2 separate regions of the Homo sapiens genome follow, and region 2 is linked to region 1. Evidence: promoter capture Hi-C in human tissues and cell types (Jung and others, 2019). All regions are on one chromosome and are shown on one strand. Each heading gives the region's core, a stretch centred on a gene start or on the middle of the fragment in contact. The rest is flanking DNA. Distances are from core to core; before and after follow the strand shown. Region 1 holds the start of ZNF267 (zinc finger protein 267). Region 2 holds the start of ITGAM (integrin subunit alpha M).

Evidence for each region. The method cuts DNA at HindIII sites, captures the fragments that hold promoters and counts their contacts. A contact is called where the count stands out against the background at its distance.
Region 2: a contact is called between the fragment with the promoter of ITGAM here and the fragment with the promoter of ZNF267 in region 1, in 1 of the 25 tissues and cell types used here (hippocampus).

The regions. Positions count from the first base shown.
Region 1 is chr16:31,871,949-31,875,457 of GRCh38, reverse strand. ZNF267 (zinc finger protein 267) reads right to left here and starts at 1,651. Exons shown (of 4, transcript NM_003414.6): 1 at 1,489-1,651. The coding sequence starts at 1,491. RefSeq lists silencers at 1,370-1,449, 1,600-1,649 and an enhancer at 1,536-1,830. The HindIII fragment of the contact is 15,903 bases long and covers 1-3,509 here.
Region 2 is chr16:31,258,452-31,261,960 of GRCh38, reverse strand. It overlaps ITGAM (integrin subunit alpha M), which reads right to left and starts at 1,986. Exons shown (of 30, transcript NM_000632.4): 1 at 1,869-1,986; 2 at 164-269. The coding sequence starts at 1,896. RefSeq lists an enhancer at 2,130-2,229. The HindIII fragment of the contact is 10,369 bases long and covers 1-3,509 here.

The sequences.
Region 1 (3,509 bases), core at 402-2,901:
GACCAGCAATGTGTCTCCAAGGGATGAAAACTAGCTTTGAAGAAATAAAATCCTTATGTCCCAAGGGGTTATCTTTTTAGGTTAAGGGTGTCCCAGGAGATTTCTCTCAGCCCCAGGGCATCCAGCTGCTCCCCTGAGGGACTACATTTCCATACCTTGGGCGGTCCTCTAACAGGAGGTGACCTGGGGCTGACAGTCACTAAACACTCCAGGAGACATGGCCACTGTGGGCATCTTGAGTCATCCCAGACAGTTCTGAAATTCAGGAACAGGAAAAGACTGGATAGAGGGTGGCTATACAGGGCCCTGTAAAGTTTCCAAAGCAAAACCTCAAGTCAAAAGACATTCTTTCCGATAACGTGTCTGTGCCTGGGGAAGATGAATGAAAAAGAGGCACAGTTTTTTTTGCAGTGGAGTGTCAGGGATTTTTTATTCTCTGCTTTCCTCTCACGTGAAATGTATGCCAAAAAAACACAAATCTTTAAAAAAGTGTCATCCACTGCTCTGTGAAATCATGATTAATGAGTAAAATACTGTCTGAAATGTACAATAAATGACCAATAGTTAAGAATGTGAACTGGAGAGGGGAAGTTGGCCTTTGGAAATGTCGGGAAGGAACTGGAAATTTAATATTTTATTGCAAGCCCAGTTAGACTGGGGGAACACAGTGGTGGACTTGAGACTCTGCGTGCTACACGTTAGGAAAGCGCAGGGGGAAAACCAGTTCCCCTGGGCAGTGTTAAGATGATTAATGAGCAGGCGATTATACGGAAGTGGTTATAGTGCCCCAGGTTTCTAGGGAGAAAAACCAAAACCAAACTCAAATGCTTTTCTTGTAAATTACAACTTTAGGGGAAAACAAAATTCAGACTTAACGAACCACAAAGCTCCAATTCACCTCCACCTGCATAGTCTAAATAAGGCAACTACAAACTGTAACCCATCGGTTAATTTGGTCTGCTTCCTCATGCACCTTATAAAAACCTTTCCTTCAAGCCCCTCTGGGGATCTCCGAACCACAAACCAGGACTGCAGGCTTCCCATGTCACAAATCGCTATTTGCTCAAATTCTTCAACGTTTTAACAGTGACTCCCTTTAATTCTTAAGAGGAGTAGTGACTGAGGACCCCACAGGGCACGGTTTCTTCCCACACACCGAACCTGGGTCTCCCCTGAGACGCTCCCGTCCTCACCGCACAATCTGGGGGAGACGCGGGGCTGCGACGCGGAGCTGCCCAGAGAGGGCTCCGGCCAGGGACGAGGTCGCTCTGCGGGGTCGGGATGGGACAGGACACGCGGGGTCCCGGCTGCCGGCCTGGCCGCCATCTTGCAGCGGAGGGGACCGAGGGCCGAGCTGCACCAGTTGGGACTCGGGGCCCAGACCCCGAGGCTGACTGCGGGGAGGCCCGGGTGCCCCTACAGCGGGTTCCCGCCGCTTCCGACCACCGCCCTCCCTCCCTCTGGGGACCCCCGACCCCGCACACTCACCATTTCCCAGCTTCCGGGATGCCCTGGCGTCTTAGCTACGAATCTCCCAGTGCCTGCAAGTCGCAGAGCAACAGAGGTTCTGTTTATTCTCAGAACGCGAAGCCGCCTGGGCCTCCCAGAACGAAAGACTCGGAGCTGTGGCGAGGAGACCCGAGCTCTAACTGGAGCCGACGAAGGCCCCCGCCAAATCCCGGAAGCCGCCCCTGCTCTCCGGCTTCACTCCTGATTGGACGGTTTCCACTCCAGCGCCCCTGATTGGATAAAGCTCCATGCCCCGCCCCCTCATTATTAGTGCCTTTTTTTTTTTTTTTTTTGAAAGGGAGACTGGCTCATTGAGGTGGGGCCGCCTGCTGCGGGTATTACAGCTAATTAAGGGGTGAGCTGCGACTTGAAATACACTTGCTCTTTCCCTTACCTGGTTCTGCTTGTATAAGACATCTTATTAGCTAATTAAGTTTAAGAAGAAGTATATTTAGACACCTTTAAAGCAAGAAAGACCCTCATCCCGTCCCTTAGCACCTCTCTTACCGCACTGTACCCCACTGCTAACGCCACCGTGGGAGGGGGCCCCTCAGCTGGGAACAGAAGGCCGTACACTTCATTCACGTGTTTTCAATTAGGCCCTCGCATGATACATAGACTGAACCAGTGCAAAAGCATCTTATAGGGGCATGCAGGCTGGGGTCCCAGGAGGATGTTGCGGGCCGTGGTGGAACGTGGAAGAGGGGCTGGCCTATTCTTCTAATCTACAACTCTGCCCGCATCTCCTGGAGTCTGCATCACTGGTAACGGGGCCGCTGACTGTCCGTCTGTCTCTCCTTCTCAATCCCTTCAAGCTCAGGGAAGAAGGGTCCTTGGCAGCGACAGGGCTGGGAGCTCAGTTCCTCTGGGCCGTGCTGGCTCAGGCTCTGTGGCCACGGACTCCTCAGCCCTACCTCTGGTTTTTGCTTTTGTTTTGAGACAGGGTCTCACTCTATTGCCCAGGCTGGTGCAGTGGTGCAGTCATGGCTCACTGCAGCCTCCGGGGCTCAAGCAATCTTCCCACCTCAGCCTCCTGAGTAGCTGGGACTACAGGCACATGCCACCATGCCCGGCTGATTTTTGTATTTTTTGTAGAGATGAGGTTTCACCATGTTGCCCAGGCTGGTCTCCATCTCCTGAGCTCAAGCGATCCTCCCACCTTAGCCTCCCAAGTAACTGGGGCTACAGGTTAATAGTCAGTTCGCCAACTCCTGAGCTCAAGTATTCTGTCTGCTTTGACCTGCCAGAATGCCCTATTCCTGTTTTTCTGGAGTCTTGGAGCTAGTGGCGCTGCAGCACCTCGTAGTCTTCCGGCTGAGTAGATTCTCCTAGTCTTCTGGCTGAGTAGAAGGTGGGAGAGGAGGTGGGTGTCAAACTGGGCCAGGGCCCTCGGCCGCCATCTAGCTTGGTTAAACTCCCACTTGGGACAGATCAGGCTCTGTGCCTTATTCAGTGAGACGTGTGGAACAAATGCTTCCCTCCCCAAAGCAGAAACATCCCTGATTGCTGACAGTCAGGATTCCATGCACTTGTCTTGGCCTGGGGCATGGCTGCCTCTCACCCTCTCACCCAGTTCTAGTCGCTGCACTCTGTGGCCTCCCTGCCACCAGATTAGGTGTAGACAACGGGTGTGGGACAGGGCTGCTGACACCACTGGCTGACCAAACCCCTTTCCCACACTGAAGGGAGAAAAGACAGGAGGTTAGGGGCTCCCAAAGGCAGCACTGCTTGTGACAGCACCACGGGAGTCCTTAGGGCCTACTAAGGGGCTGGGCTGGAACTCAGGATCAACTCTGCCTGACTCCAAAGCCCATGCACCTCCATGGACCTCACAACTCAAGCAGCTTCCCTAGGCCTTTGAAATCCTGGAGATTGACTCTTTTGCGATAGAAGAAAGATTCCTTTTGATTCTCATCCTTCTAGTACTCTTCACAATTGGAAATAATCCCCACCAGAGAATGCTTCTGAAATGTCTTGGAAACATGTAGAATAATTTGGGA
Region 2 (3,509 bases), core at 737-3,236, 610 kb after region 1:
CATCTTTTGAATTTAGAATACTGTAAATTCAAAAGATGAATTTGTTGTATATTTTGAATTGATTTATCTGTTGAAAAAGATCACTCAAATCGCTGATTTTTTTCAGGTATGTAAGTCTTGGAGAGAAAGCACTGAGAAAGGGGGCTCCATCTAAGGGTCTCACCTGGATCCCTGAAGCTGGACCACGCTCTGCCCGAAGCCCCTTGCGTTCTCTTGGAAGGTCATTGCGTTTTCAGTGTCCAAGTTGAACCCATGACATAAGGTCAAGGCTAAAGGGAGAATGGGGGAAGGATCAAGCAGAGGAAAGTAGCATGCCAGTTAGGGGCTGTAGTCCTAGCACTTTGGAGGGCTGAGGCAGGAGGATCACTTGAGCCCTGATTGTGCCACTGCACTCCAGCCTGAGCAACAGAGAGAGATCCTATCTCAAAATTAAATACAAAAAAAAAACAAAAACTAATAATAATTTAAAAGAAAGCAATGGCTGGGTGTGGTGGCTCAGGCCTGTTATCCCAATAATTTAAGAGGCTGACGTGGGAGGATCACCTGGGCTCAGGAGTTTAAGACCAGCCTAGGCAACACAGTGAGACCCCATCTCTACAAAAAATAAAAAATTAGCCGGGTGTAGTGGTACTCAGGAGGCTGAGGTGGGAGGATTGCTTGAACCCAGGAGGTCAAGGCTGCAGTGAACCATGATCATGCCACTGCACTACAGCCTGGGCAACAGAGAAAGACCCTGTATCAAAAAAAAAAAAAAAAAAAAAAGATAGCAGCATGTCTTCCTGCTCCATTCCCTTTCCCATCCATTCGGTCACCCTAACTAACCCAGCATCCAGATGTCTGCCTCCCAGGTCCAGCTCTGTTAGCCTGGGGCGGGGATTAGCACACTTATTCTGTAAACAGCCAGATAGTAAATTTTAGGTTTTGCAGACCAAGAGGCTGATAGAATATGTTGTACAAGTACTTATATAACAAGACAGAAAATACTTTTCCACAAATTTGTCATTAGGGAAATTTCAAACATAATGATTGAGTACAATTTGTTTGTAATACGGGTTTACAAATGAGACAAATAGAATTCTTTGGGGGTGGTGCTCCCTATCATCAAATCGATTATCAGTGTTCATCTTCAATCTCTAGCTGGCAGGTTGTGCAAAAACAGGTCGTGGGCCATATCGGGCCCCCAGGCCACTGTTTGCTGACTCCTGACCTAAGAACCACCGTCGTGGGGCACGTCCAGTCCTGCTCTGAATTCCAGCCTCCCTTCTGAGCACCTAAATGGCTTCTTCCCCCGGTGTCACAACGATGATTTGCCCAACAGTGAAGTTTCTATACATTCTTAATTAGATAATTTCCTTCCTATGCAGCTCTCAAGTATTTCCTTCCCTTTTGAGGAGAATTTCATTTTCCACAACATATAAGCATAAAAGGTAACAAACTCAAATCATTTTCATTCATCAGTCATTCAACAAACATTTGCACCCGGGACCTTGGAAAATAGAACCGGAGGCAAAGTGGAGATGGTGAGAGGGGATCCAGGAGGAAGCACTCAGGAAAGGGGTCTCACACCTGCTGCGCACCCTGAGCCATGTCACTTCTCCTCCCTGGGCCTCCGTCTCCTCATGTGTGAAGCAAGGGGACCGGCAAGCAGCCTTGCACAGTCCATGAATGTGGTCATTCATCCAGGCTTCCCTGGCCAGCCTGTCTGGGTCTAGCTGTTCTCCCTGCTTCTTCTTGAACCCTTTCTCCTTCCCCAAATCCCCTTTGCCTCTCCCCAGACTGACTCCTACATATTCTGGGCCCTCTATTTATGACAGACCCAAAAGTTACCCTCCTCCCCACCCAGAGTCCCCCACCCCACCCCCATGCACCTGTTAACAGAAGGACTCTGAGAGCCATGGCTGGAAGGAGCCAGAACCTGGAAGGAGGTGAACCAGGGGTTGCAGGCACCACTGAGGAACCACAAGGAAGCCACCAAAGCAAAGAAGGGCAGAAAAGGAGAAGTAGGAGGCAGAAGTCTATCAGAGATTCAAAGGAAGAGGGCGGAGGCTCAGTGAGCACATAGCCCTGCCTGGTCTTCCGCCCAGGACTGCCCACAGCCTGCCCACCCTTCCTCCCCAGCTTCCTGACCCAAACTTTCAAAGTCAATACCACTATCCAAAAGGTGCCATTTGTCACCCACTTGTTTCTTGGGTTGGCCCAAGCATATGAACAAGCTGAACAGACTTAGCCTGCCTCCTGGAATTCGTGTTCTAAACATTAATACGGGCCAGGCGCAGTGGCTCACGCCTGTAATGCCAGCACTTTGGGAGGCCAAGGCAGGAGGATTGCTTGAGCCTGGGAGTTTGAAACCAGCCTGGGCAACATAGAGAGACCCTGTCTCTACAAAAAAATATTTTTAATTAGCTGGGCATGGTGGTGCGCGCCTGTAGCCCCTGCTACTGGACAGGCTGAGGTGTGAGAATTACTTGAGCCCGAGGTCCAGGCTGCAGTGAGCTAGGATCACACCACTGCACTCCAGCCTGGGCAACATAGGGAGACCCCGACTCTACAAAAAAATACATTTAAAAAATTAGCCAGGCATGGTGGCACATGCCTGTAGTCCTAGCTACTCCAGAGGCTGAGGCAGGAGGATTGTTTGAGCTCAGGAGTCTGAGACTGCAATGAGCCTCAATAATGCCACTGCACTCCAGCCCAGGTGACAGAGTGAGACTCTGTCTCAAAAAAAAAATTAAATAAATAAATAAGCAAACATTAATACAGATCAAACAAGTGTAGGAGGTAAAACTCTGTGTCTTCCTGAAAACACACTTTGCAAAATGTCCCTCCTTCAGCCCATGGAAATGGAAGCGCCCTTCAGCCAGAGCTGTCCTCATTTGTAGCCATCAACAAAGACAACTCAAGTACAGGCATACCTGGTGCTTTTTAAATATTATTTTGTGCTTTTTTTAGAGACAGAGTCTAGCTCTGTTGCCCAGGCTGGAGTGCAGTGGTGTAATCACAGCTCACTGCAGCTTCAATCAACCTCCTGGGCTCAAGCGATCCTCCTACCTCAGCCTTCCGAGTAGCTGGTACTACAGGCACATGCTGCCATGGCCAGCTAATTTTTTTTAAATTTTTTGTAGAGACAAGATCTTGCTATGTTGTTCAGGCTATTCTCAACCTCCTGGACTCAAGTGATCCTCCTTCCTCAGCCTCCCAAACTGCTGAGATTACAGGTGTGAGCCACTGCATCCAGCCTATTTTTGTGTGTGTGTGTGTGTGTGTGTGTAAAGGCCTCAAGCTCTTCACCCAAGAATTTTCACTTCTAGTAATTTATCCTAAGAATAGTTAAGAAGTGTAGTCAAAAATATATGTACAAACTTGGCTGGGTGCGGTGGCTCATGCCTGTAATCCTAGCATTTTGGGAGGCTGAGGCGGGGTGGCTCACTTGAGGTCAGCAATTGAAACCAGCCTGCCCAACATGGTGAAACCTCATCTTTACTAAAAAGACAAAAAAATTAGCCAGGCGT